Regions from separate parts of the Homo sapiens genome. Here region 2 is linked to region 1. The links are contacts of gene promoters, found by promoter capture Hi-C in human tissues and cell types (Jung and others, 2019). All regions are on one chromosome and are shown on one strand. The core of a region is centred on a gene start or on the middle of the fragment in contact, and the rest is flanking DNA. Distances in the headings are between cores, read along the strand shown.

Region 1 (4,893 bases), core at 2,394-4,893:
GATGGTGCCACCGTACTCCATCCTGCATGACAGAGTGAGACCCTGCCTCAAAAATAATAAATTAATTATTAGCATATTTTATCAACATATAAAATAACTTACTCTTCAGATTGGCTAAATGTATATATTTACCAACATTACAGACAACTGCAATACCAACAACATAAAAGTAAGAATCTTAACAATCTATTTAGAACATGTACTCAACAAAACCCACACTGGCCAAATACACTAACTGCTTTGCCTTGATCTGGTGCACTCAGGCCCAACATGGGGCATGGTGTTTTGTGAATGGACATTATGCAATCATGCCAGTTGAAATAAAATCTTTGAAATTGCTCCAAAACTGGTTCTACAGCTTTAAAACATCTAATTTCATCAGTGCCTGCTACATTTAGGGAAAAACAAAAGGCTGCTTGTAGCAACCTGGTACCAAGAGTGTAGTTTAAGTCTCAATTGTTGCCAGGCCCCTGATAGGTGATTCTCTCTTCATTGTCCTTGCTGATTCCTTGCAGGCCACCTTCCTCTTCACACCCTCTGTGTGCTAGAATTCCTCAGGCTGGGAACTAGGCCCTTCTCTTGTCACTCTCCATTCTCTCCCTAGGTTATCTAATCTAATTTAATCCCATAGTTTTAAAATTCATCTTTATGCCAATAGCTCTCAGACCTATTTCTCCAGGTTAGAAACTGTCTTCTAAATTACAGATCTGTAATTTAGACTATCTGAAATCTGCATCTGGCTGTCGCAGAGACAGTACAAACTACAAACAACACATGTGAAATCCAACTAGTGGTCTACCCTTGCCCAAATGTGCTCCTCCACTAATCTTTCCTATTTTAGGAAATGACACATCATTCACCCAGTTGTTCATGCCAGAAACTGGACGTCCTTCTTGACACTACTTTTTCAGTGACCCCGGCCTATATCCAATACATTGGCAAGTCCTAGTGACTAAGGTATCAACAGATGATTGATAGACAGATAGATAGATGATAATCTTAAATCCATCCACTTCTCTCCACCTCCACTGTCTTAAACCTATTCCTATTTATCATCTGTGACCTAGACAGCAGTTTCCTAAGTGGTCTGCCCACATCCTCTCGAGACACTTTCCAATCCATCTTTCACAACATAGCCAGAACAATCTTTTAAAACCAATTCTTTTTTTTTTTTTTCAGACAGAGTCTCACTCTGTCGCCCAGGCTGGAGTGCACCGGCATGATCTTGGCTCACTGCAACCTTCACCTCCGCCTCTGGGGCTCAAGTGATTCTCATGCCTCAGCCTCCTGAGTAGCTGGGATAACAGGCGTGCACCACCACACCCAGCTAATTTTTGTATCTTTAGTAGAGACAAATTTCACCATGTTGCCCAGACTGGTCTTGAATTCTTAAACTCATGTGATAGGCCACCTCGGCCACCCAAAGTACTGGGATTACAGGCATGAGCCACCGTGCCTGGCCAAAACCAATTCTCTTTTATTCTTTCTCCCTCTCATTGACACATACACATCACTTAAAGCATTTCAATCACTTTGCATGTAAGATAAAACCCCAAATCATTAATATATACTAAGTCAAAAGAAATTCTGAAGGACAAAAGCATTTAGAAAAAAAGTTTACTTACAAAAACACTTGCAAAAGTATACAGGTGAATTTACGCTTTAGAAGGACTGATACATCAAATGAACACACACCAAGGTTTACAGTTAGTTGCTTCATGGTGAGAAAAGAGCAATTTTCTCATATGATTGCCATATGACCCCAAGCTCCCACATATCTTCAGACTGTAGCAGTACAAAAGTCAGCAATTAAACTGTAAGAGAGTCAGTAATATATGGGAAATGCTGAAAGTTTTGTTCACTTTGGAGACTACAGAGTGTGATACTGTTGTTTCACGGTTTATTTCAGAACACAAAGTATTTTGTTTTTCCTGTGGGAAGTAATATGTACACTCACTCATTTTGGAAACAGGACAAGATGTCAGTTTTGCTTTATAAGCATAAACCCCAGCATGTCTGGGTACTTCTTATATCAGCTTCAACTCATGCCACTCTCCCCCTCATTTTCTACATTCTAGTCACATGACCTTCTTGCAGGTTCTCAAAGCTCTTCCCCAACATGCCGTCCCCTCTGTCTGGTACACATTCCCCTACATACTTTACCTGCCAAACCTTACTCATTTTCCCAGATGCAACTTAAATGTCACTTCCTCCAAATCCCACTCTAAACTGAGTGCCCCAACTATTCAATCATAGCACTCTGCATTATCAGGTATGATGCCTTTGGATGCGAATAACTGAAAAACCAAACCTATCAATAGAGTTTTTAATATCAGGGAGGCTTTTGGGCATGGAGAATAACAATCACCACTATGTGTACTTTTGTTTAATGCTTACTTTATAAACTTTAAAATATATTAAACAGTATTTCTGGGAAATACTGTCTGATGCCATCCAATGCAGTATTCACTAACCACATGTGGCTATTGAACACTTGAAATATGACTAATCCAATTAAGGAATTTAATTAGGAATTTTTTTAATTTAAATTTTGGAAAAACTAAAGTGTGTGAACCTATTTTTTCAACTGCAAACTTTATAAAATCTAAACACAGATCCAATATTTCCAATTAAAATCAGGCAACTGAGATCAGTGTATGCATGTGAAATACATATCGAATTTTCAAGACTCAGTATAAAAAAATGTAAAAATTATCTGAATTTTTATATTGACTACATGTTGAAATGAGATTTTGGATATATTACGTTAAATAAAATATATTACTAAAATTAATTTCCTCTTTTTTTTTTTTTTGAGGTGGAGTCTCGATCGATCCCCAGTCTGGAGCGCAGTGGCTGATCTCGGCTCAGCGCAACCTCCGTCTCCCGGGTTCAAGCGAGTCTCCTGTTTCAGTCTCCCTGGTAGCTGGGATTACAGGCGCCCACCACCGCGCCGGGCTAATTTTTGTATTTTTAGTATAGACGGGTTTTCACCATGTTGGTCAGGCTGGTCTCGAACTCCTGACCTCAGATGATCCGCCCGCCTTGGCCTCCCAAAGTGCTGGGATTACAGGCGTGAGCCACCGCGCCTGGCCTCATCTGCAATTTTACTTAAATCACAAATATACTAGATCTTCTTACATGCTTCGAAGAACTAAAAAAAATAAGACATGAATTATCACAATGATTACCGAATTAATTGTAAATTTTTTTATTTAAACTAGTCACAAAGGTATCACAGGTATGACTTACACCTAACGGGGGCCAAAAGATGGGTTGCGAAACGAATGACTGAATTATCCCTAACAATCTTGGGAAGAAAACAGGATTGGCCAGGCCCATCCCGAGAGGTCCACGTCAGGCAGGGGCCCCGCCCACCGCGGGACCAAGCGGCTACGCCTTCCAAGTTTTCATTCGGGGCCGCGCCAGCGCTGAGGAGAGTCAGACGCCAGATGGTTCCGAAGGTCCTGCAGGCTCTCGGGGCACCCTACAGCCGACACGCCAACAAAAGCTTCGGAGCCGCCAACCCCAAAACGGAAACACCGGAGCCACAAGCTGAGCTCGCGTAGGGCACGCTCCCCCGGGAGTGCTTCCGGGACAGGGGGCGGGGTCGCCGGAAGTGGCCGTCCGCCGTCCGCTGCTCGTTGTTTAAGCGGCTGACGGGAAGGAGAAGCCAGAGCTCCAGCGGCGCCGCGGGGCGGCAGTCAAGACCAGAGCCGGAGCCGTCACTCACCTCTGGATTAGCCTGAAGCGGAGACTACCGGCTGCGGAGCGGCGGGGCGAGACACTTGCTCGCCTTTTGACCCCATCATGTCGCGGGGCTCCATCGAGATTCCCCTCCGGGACACTGACGAGGTAAGTGTCGTGTATGGAGGCGGGTGGGGGCCATGAACTTGTACGATCGCCCCCACCGACTTCGCTCGACTTCGTTTCTGAAGCGAGAGCATCCTCCTTCCCTAAGAGCCCTGATCGAAATACCTGGCCAAGGTCTGATCATCATCTTCTTCAGCCCCTGTGCCCTCTCAGGCTGGGGGCACCGCGTCTCTGCAGCCTCAGGGCCACTCGGAGAAGGAGTTCTTGAAAGTTCCTCTCCAGCCTGTTCGAATTTGACAGTGCGCTACTCTTTTCCTAACCAACCCACGGGAGCAGAGGTGTGAGAGTACCCGATAAACTGTAAAACACCTCGCAGATTACAGAGGTGGGCGCTGATGTTTCCGGGGTTTATATGCTTGCTGCTCAAACTCGAGATCTTTCCCTGGGAATATATAGGAGGTCGCCTCTTCTCCCTTAGAAACTCGAGTCTGTCATGGTGCGCTGTGTTCTCTACACCAACTCTCCTTCAACGAGATATCCCAAGATTTAGCCGCCCCTGTGTGCTGATAAAATTTAACCTCCTCTCGCTTACCTATGTCTCATTCATGGGTGGCCTGTGGCTTGTCTGAGTAAAGCTCTCAGCTTTGATGTTCAGTCTTCTTGTATATCTTTTATTTTTATTTTTTTTGTTTGAGATATAATATTGAGGTATAAAATTCAGTGGTTTTTAGTGTATTCGCAAAGTTGTATAGTCATTACCTCTAATTCCAGGACATTTTCCTATTATTATTTTTGTGCTTACAGTCAGGACTGTCTGTTACACGCAGGTGCCACCTCCATGATTAATGTGTGCAGTGGCATTCAACTTTGCATGGCTTGTAGGGTCATGCATCTCAAGGAGTCAGACCTATGGCATAATAGTCTCTAGGGTGCTTATCTGCACTTTACTTGGATTCTATGTTAAGTAGGATTTTGTTTTGTTATTTTTTAGTAAGCAGACCATTTCTAGTATTTTATAGTTCCAGTGATCTGGGGACAAGTAGCAGGGTTTGTTTGCTTCTCTGTGCTTTAACTTTATTA
Region 2 (5,231 bases), core at 1,822-4,321, 110 kb before region 1:
CATGCAGTGGAACAGTATTCACAAGGGCTGGGGAGGTTAAGAAGGGGAAGCAGTGTGTCAAATGGCAGGTAGCCAGATAGAGGGGGCAGCAGGCAGGGCCAGGGGCAGGTGCCAAGCTAAATGGGAGAGCCAGGGAAGAAGAAGGAATAGGGAGTTTTCTACTGTGTGGGTTTTCTGGTGAGTAGGAAGAGCTGAAGTCTTTCCAGAGGAATCTCTTCACATCATTAAAAAGGAGTAGCATTAGCAAAAGGCATTACTGGGAATCAGGGATTTGTCAGTGTTTCTGGCAGGTGTGATCTCTTGGATGTCAATTAAGCAATCAGCATCCTCTGATGCATATTCTGAGCTCAGAGGTGCAAATTAGAGACCCATGTGCCTGTTTGCTAGTAGTGTTTACAAGTTTTTAAATTAGTTATCAACATTCCATAATTGTAAGAATTCACATAAAGGTCTGGATAGCCTGCTTTTCCTTAAACTGAAAGATCAAACAATCTTAGGCCCATATTTCTGCAGAGTAACCAGGTTTGAGCTATCCTAAATTGGCTTTCTTCAGTGATTTGTGCTCCCTGGCCCCAAATGCATCTGAGTTACTGCCCTGTGTCATGTAGTTTTCATCCTGGCCTGGTTTTCCAGAGCACAGGAGGTTTGTGCTTAAAATCTCTCCCACCCACATCATCTGGGCAGCCTCATGCCTATCACCATGGGAACGCCAATGGAAACTCTGACTGTGCTTATAGCATGCGCGGGCTTCTTTCCCTGGATTTTATTCTGACTGTGAAAATTTGAGCTCTGAAAGTTGCCTTTTTCATGTCTGTCATATTTAGAGAATTTCTTTCTTGTATGAGTCCTCTGATGAACAAGAAGAAATGCATTTTGTCTAAAATATCATTTTTTACATGCATTCTATCATATGGTTTCCACCACCCCTTGTGGTGGGGCTTTACAAATTCCTGGCATGCATTGATGAGGATAAGCTGTGTCTATTTAAAGGGGCAGGATGGGCCAAACATGAGCTAATTCCATGTTGTATTCTGAAAAAATAATTGTGGTGGTATTAGGAGAGTTATAGCATATATCCATTTCTAACAGTTTCATATATTCAGGCTGCTAAATAAGTAAAATACATATTTTATTTTATTTTTATGTATTGTTTTGAGATGGAGGCTCACTCTGTCTCCCAGGCTGGAGTGCAGTGATATGATCTTGGCTCACTGCAACCTCCGCCTCCCGGTCAAGCAATTCTCATGCCTCAGCCTCCCGAGTAGCTGGGACTACAGGCATGCACCACCATGCCCAGCTAATTTTTGTATTTTTAGTAGAGATGGGGTTTCACCACATTGGTCAGGCTGGTCTCCAACTCCTGGCCTAAAGTAATCTGCCTGCCTTGGCCTCCCAAAGTGCTGGGATTACAGGCGTGAGCCACCATGCCTGGCCTTTGTTTATTTTTAATCTTATTGACACTATCTACTTCTCAAAGCAACTTGAAGTAACCAACAATAAAATATAAGATATAAAAACATGAGACTATATAAATGGGGGAATGATGGATGATTTGACAAACATAAATATCCCTAGCAGACAAGGAGAACCTCATGCTCCTAACAGTCTATGGTTGGGAGTTGTGGTTAAACTATTTGCCCTGAAACCTAATGAAGCCGTGATCCACGTGGCGCAGACTCTGAGAAGGCTCGCCTTACGGAACTGTTCAACAGAAAGAAAACCAGCATAGAAGGAACTTCATTCTTTACTCTCACCTCTCAAAGAACATGAAAGGGGAACAAATCTTCACTCCCATCCTGACCTCTCCTCTGCCCTTTTCTCTTTCCTTAACGATTCTCACGCCCCCTCTCTGATGACTCTTCCCCTGCTTGCCTCCCTGCCCAGATCCTCTGTCTACCTTCTTTCTCTTTTTCTCCTGCTCCAGCCTTTACTCCCCCAGCTCCATCCAGTTATTTTTTGTGCAGATTGTCTTCATTTGTTTGTATGATTGACTCACAAACATTTACTGAAGAGTCTTACAGAGCAAAGACCTTCTTGGAGAAGAGAGGGGCACTGGGCTGGCAATGATCAGATTCTGTTTGGCGTCCAAGAAAGGGATGTGGTCTGTGAACACTCCCACATTATTGGACCTTATTCTGTCCAATCATCCGGCAAACATTTATTGAATGCCTATTGTGGCCAGGGTCTATGCTAAGGTCTGGGAAGACAAAGGTGAACTGAGCGGGCCTCTGCAATGCTTCCCATTCATTAGCATGAAGGAATGGGGAGAGAAGGGGAAGTAACCTCCACTGCTATTACTAATAGTGCCCTCGGTGTTGATACCTACCAGGTAAATGGGTACAAGGCACGGGAGTGAGCTGCCTTCTGATAGGAGCTTTCTCTGCTTGCTGGCTAATGGTTACCTGAAGCAAAGCTCTCCTGACTGTAGGCATCTCACTGGGGAGGAGGACCATGGCAGAGGTGCCCATACAAAAAGGCAGAAACAAGCCATGGGTGGCAAGTGCCAAGCAGGTAACCGCAGACACTCACAATTCCAAGTGGCTTACAAAGCAGGAAGCATAAAGCGATTAGGAGGAAATCCTCTAATCCCTTGATGGAACATCCTGGAAGGTTCTTCACACTTGCCTTCTAATGTGTGCAAAATACACAACTCATAAAATCATAGTGTTCTTTCCCTCATCAGCTGACAGAATCGTTGAGCAAGCTCTGGGCAACTTCTCCTTTTCTGCAAAACTGTTTTGGTGGGAACATTCAGGTCTTGTGGGGGCTGTTTTTCACTCTATCAGGGACTGGGGAGACAGTAATCCAGGAGAGAGTGTGTGGGAAGATTCTAGGGGCCCTCTGGGGTGAATTCTGCCAGATTTTCATGCAGTGCACACACGCATCCCTGCTCCCATTCTGAGCTGTCAAACACAAGGCAGGCCTTCAAGAAAGCTTGGGAGAGCAGTAAGACCAAATAGCGTTGGCCAGACAACCTACTGGCTTAGGGGCTTCAGGGCCTCAGGCTCAGAAGCCACACTACCTTATGGTATACTTTTTAGCTGGATAACCTTGGGCAAGTTACCTTGCCTCTCTGTGCCTCAGTTACCTAATCTATAATGGAACTATCTCACAGGGTAGTTATAAGAATTAAACAAGTTGATATAGAAATAGGATTTCTGGATAAAGCACAGGATGCCCCAGTTATATTTGAATTTCAAATGTACAACAGATAATTTTTAGTATGTGTGTCTCAAATATTCCATGGACATAACTGTATTCTCTCTCTCTCTCTCGACTGAATCTTGCTATGTGCCCAGGCTGGTCTCAAATTTCTGGGCTCAGGTGATCCTCTCACCTGAGTAGCTGGGACTGCAGGTGTGAGCCACCATGTACAGCATATAATCATATTTTCATTTTCCAAATCTGGCAGCCCTAGATGGCAAGCCTGTGGAAGTGCACCTAGCACTGAGCAAATGCTCACTAAGCATTAGATGTTATGTTCCCTTATTATTCCCTTCGGGATTGAATTAATGACTTTGGCATTTGGTTTTGAAAAGATGGTTGCTCTTAGTTCTGGGTCTCCTCAACCATCTGGAGTTAAATTGGGAGAGCCCAGCCACTGTGGTCACGGCGCAATGGAGCATCTCTCCTGGGGCATCTGACCACATAAGCCCAAGTGATCAAGGACCCACCACCAAGGCCACCTTCACCCGGCTCCACTCCCTCTCACCCTCTGCCTCTCAAACCAATCAATGCCCTTTGTGGGTTACAGACATGGAAGCACAGAAACAAACATGGCTAGAGGGAATTGGCAGTTACTCAGGCCCACTGTGTGGTGGGCCCTGTCCCAGACCCCCCTCGTGTTTTCTCACCGAATCCTCCCAGAAACTCAGTGGGTAAACCTGAGGACACCACCTACAAATTGGGGGTGATAATGCCTCCCAAACTCATAGAATTGTGAAGAGGAAACGAGAAGATGAAAGTGAAGGCCATGAGCATGGGGTAGAAGATTGATATCTTTCTTTTTTCTCTTCTGCTTTTCTATTTTGATCTCCACTTTATCAATGCAAAAACTGACTTGTCCAGGGCTGTGCCGCTTGTAAATAGGGGAAGTGACTGAACACAGGCTGTGTCCTTCCCACGACACCACGCTACTCTTAAAGCTGCATCCCCAGTTTTTGGTCTCACCTCCCCTGGTTCCTGGTGCCCTGCTGGCCTCTGACACTCTTATTCTTCCAAGCTGCACTCTCCTTCACAGAAGGTACCTCTTCCTCCAGGAAGCCCTCAAACCAGCACAAGGCTGAACACACAGCTGGAGAAAAGGACAGCATGGGCAGAGGATGCCCTTGGCTCACTGCCCTTCTCACTCCTCCATGGGCCCAGCCTCCCTGGGGGTCCATTTCCCTTCCCTGGAATCAGCCAAGCACTGAGGGCTGGGTCATCTCCCAGCAAGCTCACCCTCTAATAAGCCAGCAGGCCACATTTTGTTCTCCTTAAATAAATCTTATAGAAACATTTAAATGTTTATTTCACTCATAGATTCTCAGGAATGCACAATAGTTTTCCTAACCGCCTGGGCACAGGGATAAATATAGGCCAGTGTCATAGATGGGAATATTAGCTTCCTTTCCCCAGAGTCACATGGCTAGGCCCAGGCTAGGAAACTGTAAGGAACACCCCCAGCCCCAGCTCCAGCCCACTCCAGCTCAGGCAGGCATGGGGGGTTTAGATCCTGTAGATGGGCGCTGGCAGACAGCCCAGGAGAGGAGGACCCTGCTGGAAGGCAATGTGGGCTAGTGAAGAAGTCGGGTAGGCCTAGACCAGAATCCCACCTGGGTGACCTTGGGCAAGTTACTAGTTACTAAACTTCTCTTTCATGGTCTAAAACATTACATAGAGCTAATAATCACTATTCTCTAGGCTTGTTTTAAGTATTAAATGAGAGAAAGCAATAATAATGACGGTGAAAGTGGTGGTGGTGGGTGCGTGCTGTGAGACTGTATCCCCAGATCCCTGTCTTGTAGCCTGGAGGGCAAACAGGGACTGCCTTGGTAGAGAGGAGATCCAGCAGCAAAAGCAGCCAGTGCTCTTACAACAGGATAAAAGGACTCTCTGGGCCGGGCACGGTGGCTCACGCCTGTAATCCCAGCACTTTGGGAGGCCGAGGCATGGCCTCGGTGGATCACAAGGTCAGGAGATCGAGACCATCTTGGCTAACACAGTGAAACCCCGTCTCTACTAAAAATACA

The links. The method cuts DNA at HindIII sites, captures the fragments that hold promoters and counts their contacts. A contact is called where the count stands out against the background at its distance.
Region 2: a contact is called between a fragment that was not itself captured here and the fragment with the promoter of CTR9 in region 1, in 5 of the 25 tissues and cell types used here (H1 embryonic stem cells, IMR-90 fibroblasts, bladder and 2 more).

Annotation. Positions count from the first base shown.
Region 1 is chr11:10,747,603-10,752,495 of GRCh38, forward strand. CTR9 (CTR9 component of Paf1/RNA polymerase II complex) reads left to right here and starts at 3,644. Exons shown (of 25, transcript NM_014633.5): 1 at 3,644-3,855. The coding sequence starts at 3,811. RefSeq lists enhancers at 3,013-3,513, 3,312-3,461, 3,482-3,531. The HindIII fragment of the contact is 21,303 bases long and covers 1-4,893 here.
Region 2 is chr11:10,637,786-10,643,016 of GRCh38, forward strand. The region is part of intron 2 of IRAG1 (inositol 1,4,5-triphosphate receptor associated 1); the gene reads right to left. Among named protein-coding and RNA genes, the nearest start is that of IRAG1, 53 kb to the right of the region's middle. RefSeq lists enhancers at 4,149-4,198, 4,219-4,398. The HindIII fragment of the contact is 8,261 bases long and covers 1-5,231 here.